Regions from separate parts of the Homo sapiens genome. Here region 1 is linked to region 2. The links are contacts of gene promoters, found by promoter capture Hi-C in human tissues and cell types (Jung and others, 2019). All regions are on one chromosome and are shown on one strand. Each heading gives the region's core, a stretch centred on a gene start or on the middle of the fragment in contact. The rest is flanking DNA. Distances are from core to core; before and after follow the strand shown. Region 1 overlaps HPS1 (HPS1 biogenesis of lysosomal organelles complex 3 subunit 1). Region 2 holds the start of CNNM1 (cyclin and CBS domain divalent metal cation transport mediator 1).

The links. Contacts are between HindIII fragments. The study calls those that stand out against the background at their distance.
Region 1: a contact is called between a fragment that was not itself captured here and the fragment with the promoter of CNNM1 in region 2, in 4 of the 25 tissues and cell types used here (bladder, dorsolateral prefrontal cortex, mesenchymal stem cells and 1 more).

Annotation. Positions count from the first base shown.
Region 1 is chr10:98,436,538-98,441,576 of GRCh38, forward strand. All of the region lies in intron 3 of HPS1 (HPS1 biogenesis of lysosomal organelles complex 3 subunit 1), which reads right to left. Among named protein-coding and RNA genes, the nearest start is that of HPS1-AS1, 7.3 kb to the right of the region's middle. The HindIII fragment of the contact is 6,299 bases long and covers 1-4,409 here.
Region 2 is chr10:99,325,258-99,330,863 of GRCh38, forward strand. CNNM1 (cyclin and CBS domain divalent metal cation transport mediator 1) reads left to right here and starts at 4,099. Exons shown (of 11, transcript NM_020348.3): 1 at 4,099-5,606. The coding sequence starts at 4,131. The HindIII fragment of the contact is 11,915 bases long and covers 1-5,606 here.

The sequences.
Region 1 (5,039 bases), core at 10-2,509, 890 kb before region 2:
ATTGACTTTGATAAGCTCTTCCTCCATCCATTCTCTCAGCTCTCCAAAAGAAGGAACAAAACAAATAAACAAAAACAAAAAGGAACTGGACAAGTTTGTTGCAAATGTGTGAATAAAATGGGATAAAGCCAGTGGAACAGTTACAACTCAAATTCTCCGTAGTGGAATAAAAAGAAAGGAAGAAAACAGCAGACTTCCCAAGAAGATTTCAGGAGACGTGAATGAAATATGGGGAAGGCACAGTCCTAACTTGGAGCTGGGGAAGTCTACAAGAAGCTGAGTAAGACCTTGCCTTGAAAAGAAAGACAGGCAACTGGCCAGCGGGAAGGTGCAGCATTGAAGTACAAGTGGGACACAGCACTATGGAGTAGGTTTTCCTGCCAACATTCGGGAACCAAGGACTGTACCCAGCTCCCACAGTTAGTCTGTCCAGCTTTCACAGTGGCTCCTACTTATCATTCTGGTTCCAGCTCAGATTTTTTTTTTTCTGGCCACCTCAGGCTACCGCCCTCCACCTCTGTCACTCCCCATCCCATACCCCATTTAACTTCTCCAGACTATTTGTCACTATCTGAACTCATGGTACTTATTTGCCATCTGGTTCACTGTACAATGTCCTTCTTTAGACTCTAAGTTCCATGAAAGCAAGGATCATGTTGCTACGTTTACTGCTTTACCCCGAGAGACTGGCACATGGTAGGTTCCCAATTAATATTTGGTTAATGAATACCCCACAGATAGGCGAGAATTCCATAAACAGGCAAGAATTCAAATATTTGCTGAATTATTCATATACCATGATTTTCTTGAACAAATTTTATTAATAGAGAAGTCACTTATGAATCTAGATGTTGATAGAAACTCATCGTAAAAGCAGTATAGTCACATACTGAAGAGCAATGTTTTGGTCAGCAACAGACCACGCATGATAGTGGCCCCATAAGATTATACTGCTTTATTTTTGCTATACCTTCTCTATGTTCATTCAGATACACAAACATTTCCATTGTGTTACAACTGCCTGCAGTATTCAGTACAGTCACATGCTGTAGGTTTGCAGCCTAGGAGCAACAGGCCATACTGTACAGCCTAGGTGTGTAGTTGGCTACACCATCTAGGTTTGTGTAAGCACACACTATGATGTTCACATGACAAGGAAATCACCTAATGATGAGTTTGTTATTAACAGAATGTATCACCATCATTAAGCAGGGCATGACTATAGCTTTTTCTGCAGGAATAGAACTTTTTTTTGGTGAGGGGATGACATGGTTAAGCTTTGTGTCCCCATCAAATCTCATCTTGACTTGTAATCCCCATAATCCCCACGTGTCAAGGGAGACCTGGTGGAGATAACTGAATCATGGGGGTGGTTCCCCCAGGCTGTTCTCAACTTGTTCTCATGAAAATGAGTGAGTCCTCACCAGATCTGATGGTTTTATAAGGGGCTCTTCCCCACTTTTCTTGACACTTCTTCCTGCTGCCTTGCGAAGAAGGTGCCTTGTTTCCCCTTTGCCTTCCACCACGACTGTAAGTTTCCTGAGTTCTCCCCAGCCATGCTGAACTGTGAGTCAATTAAACCTTTTTTCTTTATAAATTACCCAGTCTCAGGCAGTTCTTTATAGTGGTACGAAAACGGACTGACACAGTAAATTGGTACCACAGAGAGTGAGGTGCTACTATAAAGATACCCAAAAATGTGAAAGTGACTTTGAAACTGGGTAACAGGCAGAGGTTGGAACAGTATGGAGGGCTCAGAAGAAAACAGGAAGATGTGGGAAAGTTTGGAACTTCCCAGAGACTCATTGAATGCTTTTGAACAAAATTCTGATAGTGATATGGACAATGAAGTCCAGGCTGAGGTAGTCTCAGATGGAGATGAGGAACTTATTTGGAACTGGAACAAAGGTGACTCTTGTTATGCTTTAGCAAAGAGACCGGCAGCATTTTGCCCCTGCCCTAGAGATCTGTGCAACTTTGAACTTGAGAGAGATGATTTGGGGTGGAAGAAATTTCTAGGTAGCAAAGCATTCAGGGAGTGACTTGGGTGCTCTAAAAAGCACTCAGTTTTATGCATTCACTAATAGATGGTTTGGAATTGGGACTTATGTTTAAAAGGGAAGCAGAACATAAAAGTTTGGAAAATGTGCAGCCTGATGATGCAATAGAAAAGAAAAGCCCATTTTCTGAGGAGAAATTCAAGCCCTGGCTGCAGAAATTTGCATAAATAATGAAGAGCCAAACGTTAATCACCAAGACAATGGGAAAAATGTCTCCAGGGCCTGTCAGAGGTCTTCACAGCAGGCCCTCTCGCCACAGGCCTGGAGGCCTAGGAAGAAAAAACTGTTTCAGGGGTTGGGCCCAGGGCCTTGCTGCTTTGTGCACTCTGGGGACATGGTGCCCTGCGTCCTAGCCATGGCTAAAAGGTGCCAACATATAGCTCTGGCTGTTGTTTCAGACAGTGCAAGCCCCAAGCTTTGGTGACCTACATGTGGTATTGGGCCCACGGGTGCACATAAATCAAAAACTGAGGTTTGGGAACCTCCACCTAGATTTCAGAGGATGTATGGAAATGGCAGGATGTCCAGGCAGAAATTTGCTACAGGGGCAGAGCCCTCATGGAGAACCTCTGCTAGAGTGATTAAGGGAATGTGGGGTCAGACACCTCCACACAGAGTCCCCACTGGGGCATTGCCTAGTGGAGCTGTAAGAATAGGGCCATCATCCTCTAGCCCCCAGAATGGTAGATCCACCGACAGCTTGCACCATGCACCTGGAAAAGCCGCAGACACTCAACACCAGCCTGTGAAAACAGCTGGGAAGAGGACTGTGCCCTGCAGAAGCACAGGGGTAGGGCTGCCCAAGGCCTTGGGAGCCCACCTCTTGTATCAGTGTGACCTGGACGTGGATAGAGTCAAAGGAGATCATTTCAAAGCTTTAAGATTTGACTGCCCCACTGGATTTTGGACTTGCATGGGTCCTGTAGCCCCATAGTTCCAATTTCTCCCATTTGGAATGGGAACATTTACCCAATGCCTATACCCCCATTGTGTCTTGGAAGTAACTTGTTTTTTATTTTACAGGGTCATAGGTGGAAGGGACTTGCCTTGTCTCAGGTGAGACTTCAGTCTTGGACTTTTTGGTTAATGCTGGAATGAATTATGACTTTGGGGAACTGTTGGGAAGGCATGATTGGTTTTGAAATGTAAAAGGGACATGAGATTTGGGAGGGTCCTGGGGCAGAATGATATGATTAGGCTTTGTGTCCCCATCCAAATCTCATCTTGAATTGTAATCCCCATAATCCCCACAATCCTCATATGTCAACGGAGAAACCAGGTGGAGGTAATTGAATCATGGGAGCAGTTTCCCCCATGCTGTTCTTGTGACAGTGAGTTCTCATGAGATCTAATGGTTTTATAAGAGGCTCTTTCCCCTTCACTCAGCACTTCTCCTTCCTGCTGCCTTGTGAAGAAGGTGTCTTGCTTCCCCTTTGCCTTTTGACATGATTGTAAGTTTCCTGAGGCCTCCACAGCCTTCTGAACTGTGAGTCAATTAAACTTCTTTCCTTTACAGAGTACCCAGTCTTGGGCATTTCTTTATAGTGGTAAGAAAATGGACTAATACAGGGGAGATAAAAATATTTGGTGTATATAAAGGAGCATACTCATATATTACTTGGCGGAATTATAAAGTAGTACAATATCTTTGAATGGCTTTTGACTCAACATTTTTATTTTTAGGAATTTATCCTAAATTTATCCTAGGAATTTATCTGACATGAGATAAAATTTAAGCACAAATGTTTCTTAAAGCAAGAGTGATATAGCAAATTAGGAGCAATATTTATGTCCATATGAGGAAAATGGTTAAATAAAGGATGATACACTGATTCATGTACTGGAGTACAATGTTTCCATTAAGAATTATGCTTCTGAGACTATTTAAAAAAATAGAAGAAATATCTTGATATAATGGCAAGTGGAAAAAAAAACAGGCAGTAAAACTGTAAATGTGGTATAATCCCAATTATATAGAAAAAATAAAGACCCAAAGAAAGTATATTAAAAAGCTAATAGCTCTGGGTCATGGAATTATAGGTCATTTAAAAACTATCTCTTTGTATTTCCAAATTTCCTACAATTAACTCATTATTTATATGATGAGAAAAGAATGTGTTGCACATTAACAAAAAAAAAAAACTTTAAAGACCACCTTTCCTTTACACTACTCATTTTTAGGAACTGAAAATTCAGGAGTTCGTTCCTTTGCCAGGTTTTCAATAAAGAGGAAGAGAAAGGCCACCAAATAGTTTGCTTCTTAAGTTGACATAGTTGTAACAGTAGTTTAAAAACTGAAATATTTAAAAATTCTTAATTTAAATATTATATGTATTGACTGTTAAAAAATAAAAAAGCCTAACAGTTAGCTTAAATAAAACCACTTGAATGTCTATGATCTCTGATATCTTGTGTTTGCCTAAAGACTGTGATGAGAACACGAGTGATGTTGATGGTAAATGGACTCCCTGAGGTGGAGTCAGCTCACTCATTGGCTGGATGATGAGACCCCTTAGAGCAGAAAGGGACAGAGAGGCAATCAGCCCATGCTGCAGAAATGTAAGAACACCTTCCACTGCATCCCCAGTAAAAATATTTTTAACCCAAAATTAATCTGGAAAACATTTTCAAAATAAATTACTCCTTTAAAATGTAGAGTGGAAATTATGTAAGTGAAAATGACAAGTATTTCTGAGTTGTAATGTTAAACTGTTGAACTGGATGTCCACATGCAAAAAAAAAATTATCTTCAATCCATAGCTCATACCACACACAAAAATTCAAAGTAGATCATCAGACCTGATATAAAACCTAAAACTATAAAACTTTCAAAAGAATATGTAGAGAAAACTCTTTGTAAGTTGGGCAAAGATTTCTTAGATATAACACTAAAAGCATAATCCATAAATGCAAAATGGATAAACTCGAGTTCTAATACTTCTGCTCTTTGAAAGATACCATTGAGAATACAAACACAAG
Region 2 (5,606 bases), core at 2,849-5,348:
TCTCTCTGAGAAGCGAGGAAGTGCCCATCTTGTAAGCTAAGAAGACAGTAAACATTCAGATTCTGGGGAGCTATTTTTGGCAGCTCTTCCTTAGGAGAATCACACTGCCTGAACCTGTCCCCAGGAATCCTTTCAGTTACAGCAGAGCTCTGGAAACCCAGTACTTTTCCAGAACCTCCTATTCAGTAAAAGGAAAAGTACTCAGTCTCTCTAGATTATCTTCACACAGTGTACATTAGCCCTTACTCACTGACTCATGAAAGGGTAGGGAGCTTAAAACTGTCATTTCACGAATGAGGAAATGAGCCCAGAAAAGTAGATTGATTTTCCAAGCCTAACATTTGTTAATAATAGAGCTGGTGCAATTGGGAATAGGCTCATTCTTACAGTTCTCTCTCTTTCTCAATACATATGTAATACATATATATTTGATTTATTTAAATGACATTTATGAATGATTTTTATTACATTGGGGAAAAAGCCCTTGATGTGTTAAGTAGCAGGAGCTGACTAGAATTATGTATAATACATATTTAATTATAAAATATGTAACTATATGGAGAGCACGTGTGTGTGTGTGTGTGTGCATGTATTTCTCCATTACTTATCTATGTAGAAAATGTAAAAAGTAGTATAAAAAATGTTAACAGTGTTTATCTCTAGTTGGTGGGTCATGGTGTATTTTTATTTATGTTCTTCTGCATTAAAATTTTTGTTAATAAGCATGTAATACTTTATAACCAGAAATTTCAGTTTTTTAATTCCTGCTCTAATATTTTTTAAACATTTTATTTCCGTCAGCTCTACCAGATAAAGGAAGCATCAAGCTAGGGTCCAAAGAAGTTTTACCAGTCATTTAACCTGATCTGTAAAATGGGTATAATTATACCTACTTCCCAGGGCTCTTGTGTATATGGAATAATAAATAAGAAATTCCTTCATAACTTTAAAGCTTGTTAAAGATGTTACGTGGTATTGTAATGATGATAATGTTCTGTGGTCTAAAAGAGCTGGGAAAGCCCTTAGGATAGCGGGTATCTTTGTGCTGAGGAGTTTAGGTTGGGAAGGGAAAGAAGTCTAAGTGTCAGGAGAGAAGTAAGCGCTTTTTTGCACTTAAGAAAAACAATCAGCTGGGCGGGTGGCTCACGCCTGTAATCCCAGCACTTTGGGAGGCCGAGGCAGGTGGATCACCTGAAGTCAGGAGTTTGAGACCAGCCTGGCCAACATGGTGAAACCCCATCTCTACTAAAAACACAAAAATTTGCCAGGTGTGGTGGCACACTCTTGTAATCCCAGCTACTTGGGAGGCTGAGACAGGAGGATTGCTTGAACCCAGGAGGTGGAGGTTGCAGTGAGCCAAGATCGCGTCACTGCACTCCGGCCTGGGTGACAGAGCATGACTCCGTCTCAATAAAAAAAAAAAAAGAAAGAAAGAAAGGAAGAAAAACAATCATATGGTTGACCCCAGTTCTCTCCTTCCCTTATACTTCGAATAAATGCCTCAATGTTCCCTCATAAGATTAAACCTCCCTTCTGTCTCTTAAGTAGCCCATGCAAAAAGCAGCTTATAGTGGACAGGATCTAGTGTATTCTGAGACAATGGCATGTCACAAATGCCACGGAAAATGAGATTTCACACATAGGGATGATTTTACACTAAACCCAGGTGCCAAGGGTGGTATGTAAAATAACTCTTCCTTTTTAATTTATTAATTATTTTTAGAGACAAGGTTTCATGCTGTTGCCCAGGCTGGAGTGCAGTGATGCGATTATAGCTCACTGCAGCTTCGAATTCCTGGGCTCAAGTGATCCTCTTGCTGCAGCCTCCCAAGTAGATGAAACTACAGGCATGTGTCGCCATGCCTGGCTAATTTTTTTTAATTTTTAATTTTTTAGAGACAGGGCCTCCCTACATTGTTCCGGCTGGTCTCTAACTCCTGGCCTCAAGAGATCCTCCCACTTCAGCCTACCAAGTAGTTAGGATTACTATATTTTAAAATGTAATACAGACTTATGATAAATTTACCCAAGAGAAATAAAAATTTATGTTCTCACAAAAACCATCACACAAATGTTCATAGCCACTTTATTAATAATTGCTAAAAACTGGAAATAACTTAAATATCCTTTATTGAATGGATAAACAAACAGTGACACATCCATATAATGGAATGCTACTCAGCCATACAAAAGGATGAACTACTGAAAATCACAACAACATAGATGAATCGTAAATGCATTATGCTAACTTAGTAAAGGAAGGGAGAACCCAAAAGGCTACAGACTGTATTCTCCATTTATATGATAATCCGGAAAAGAAAACTATAGGGGAGAACAGATCAGTAGTTCCCAGAGGATAAGACGAAGGGAGGGGTTGACTACATACAATAGGACGGTAAGAGAATTTGGGGGGTGGTGGTGATGGAATTACTTTTTATTGTGATGTTTACATGTATATGCATTTGTCAACATTCATAGAACAGTACACCAAAAAGTGAATTTTACTATATAAAGTTTAAAAATAAATGCATAAAAATAATATAGTCGAGTAAATTCAAACAATATAAGGAATTTAATAAGAAAGTCTCCCTCCCAGATCTTGGTGATAATAGATCTGTATTTTGAGTGCAGTGATGGTCACATACATCCATACATGTGATAAAATGATAGAGAACTATATACACACATTACACCAATATCAACTTCCTGCTTTTGATATTGTACTATAATTAAGATGTAACCCGCCAGGCACGGTGGCTCATGCCTGTAATCCCAGCACTTTGCGAGGCCGAGGCAGGCGGATCACCTGAGGTCAGGAGTTCGAGACCAGCCTGGCCAACGTGGTGAAACCCCGTCTCTACCAAAAAAAAAAAAAAAAAAAATTAGCCGGGCGTGATGGCGGGCGCCTGTAATCCCAGCTACTCAGGAGGCTGAGGTAGGAGAATCGCTTGAACCTGGAAAGCGGAGGTTGCAGTCAGCCGAGATCGCGCCATTGCACGTCAGCCTGGGTGACAAGAGCGAAACTCCGTCTCAAAATAAATAAATTAATTAAAAGATGTAAACGGCGGGTCGCGGTGGCTCACGCCTGTAATCCCAGCACCCTGGGAGGCCGAGGCAGATGGATCATTTGAAGTCAGGGATTCGAGACCAGCTTGGCCAACATGGTGAGACCCCATCTCTACTAAAAATATAAAAATTAGCTGGGCGCGGTGGCGCACGCCTGTAATCCCAGCTACTCAGGAGGCTGAGGTAGGAGAATCGCTTGAACCCGGGAGGTGGAGGTTGCAGTGAGCCAAAATTGTGCCACTGCACTCCACCCTGGGCGACAGAGCAAGACTCCATCTCAAAATAAATAAATAAATAAATAAATCTCATATAAGTGTGTGTGTGTGTACAAATTTATACATAAATACTTTTAACACAAATGGTAGCATATTATACTTGCTGTTCTGCACCTTACTTTGTTTCTACAATTACTTTGGAGATTTTTTTCCGTATCACATATACAACAGATCCACCGCATTATTTTTTATTGCCGCATAGTATTCCATTGCACAGTGGTTTCACTTATTTCAACAGTTTCTTATTGATGGACATTCGGATCTTAACTAAGAATTGAACTTAAATAATCCAGAAATGTTTACAATAATGAAAGGTCGGCTGGAGTTGAGGCTAAAAGTTTTCACATATTCAAGACTTGACTCCAGAATATTCTTTTGACCAGAAGGGGGAATGCAAGTGGCAGGAGAAGCGAAAAGCTGGGAAATTTCCCGGGCCAATGGGGAAGCAGTGGAGCCGGCAGGGAATTACTGCCGGGTAGGAGTTCGCAGAGGAGCACCTTACTTTTGGAGTAGGAGGCCATGCTGCAAACCCAGACTTTTCAGGCTGCATCTCAGATATACCGAAGTGTGTACCCGCTACGCACAGTGCGGTGATGCCTGGCCACCTCCAGCCTCCAGCGGGGACCTCCTGCCCAGGTGGAGTCTGAATGCCCACCGCCACCAGCCCACGCGCGCAGTGGGCGTACACGTGGTGACCTGCCTGCGGCTGGGTTCCCAGCTCCGGCTCCTCCTCCCTCCAGCTCTCGCTCGGCTTCCTGCAGTATCACGTGCAGCTGCGCTGGGTGCAGGATGGCGGCGGCCGCGGCGGCGGCAGCAGCGGTGGGTGTCAGGCTCCGGGACTGCTGCAGCCGAGGCGCTGTGCTCCTGCTCTTCTTTTCCCTGTCTCCTCGGCCCCCGGCCGCCGCCGCCTGGCTGCTGGGCCTGCGGCCCGAGGACACTGCTGGAGGCCGCGTGTCCCTGGAGGGGGGCACCCTGCGCGCCGCCGAAGGCACCAGCTTCCTCCTGCGTGTCTATTTCCAGCCAGGACCGCCGGCCACCGCCGCACCGGTGCCCTCACCGACCCTCAACTCGGGGGAGAATGGCACCGGCGACTGGGCTCCGCGGCTCGTGTTCATCGAGGAGCCCCCGGGCGGTGGCGGCGTGGCCCCCAGCGCGGTCCCCACTCGCCCCCCGGGACCGCAGCGCTGCAGGGAGCAGAGCGACTGGGCATCGGACGTGGAAGTCCTGGGGCCCTTGCGTCCCGGGGGCGTGGCAGGCTCGGCCCTGGTCCAGGTGCGAGTGCGGGAGCTGCGCAAGGGCGAAGCGGAGCGGGGCGGCGCGGGCGGTGGCGGGAAGCTCTTTTCACTCTGCGCCTGGGATGGGCGCGCGTGGCACCACCACGGCGCCGCCGGCGGCTTCCTGCTGCGCGTTCGCCCGCGGTTGTACGGCCCAGGCGGGGACCTGCTGCCCCCTGCGTGGCTGCGGGCGCTCGGGGCGCTCCTGCTGCTAGCCTTGTCGGCCCTGTTCAGCGGCCTGCGCCTGAGCCTGCTGTCGCTGGACCCGGTGGAGTTACGGGTGCTGCGGAACAGCGGCTCGGCCGCCGAGCAGGAGCAGGCGCGCCGCGTGCAGGCCGTTCGCGGCAGGGGGACCCATCTGCTCTGCACCCTACTCCTGGGCCAAGCCGGAGCCAACGCGGCCCTGGCTGGCTGGCTGTACACCTCGCTGCCGCCGGGCTTCGGGGGCACCGGGGAAGACTACAGCGAAGAGGGGATCCACTTCCCGTGGCTGCCGGCGCTCGTGTGCACCGGCGCGGTATTCCTGGGCGCCGAAATCTGCCCCTACTCAGTGTGTTCGCGGCACGGGCTGGCCATCGCCTCGCACAGCGTGTGCCTGACCCGGCTTCTGATGGCAGCCGCCTTCCCCGTGTGCTACCCGCTGGGCCGCCTGCTGGACTGGGCGCTGCGCCAGGAGATAAGCACCTTCTACACGCGGGAGAAGTTGCTGGAGACGTTGCGGGCCGCAGACCCCTACAGTGACCTGGTGAAGGAGGAGCTCAACATCATACAGGGTGCCCTGGAGCTGCGCACCAAAGTTGTGGAGGAGGTGCTGACCCCCCTGGGAGACTGCTTCATGCTGCGCTCAGACGCGGTGCTCGACTTCGCCACTGTCTCCGAGATCCTGCGCAGCGGCTACACTCGCATCCCAGTGTACGAGGGTGACCAGCGGCACAACATTGTGGACATTTTATTTGTCAAGGACTTGGCCTTCGTGGACCCCGACGACTGC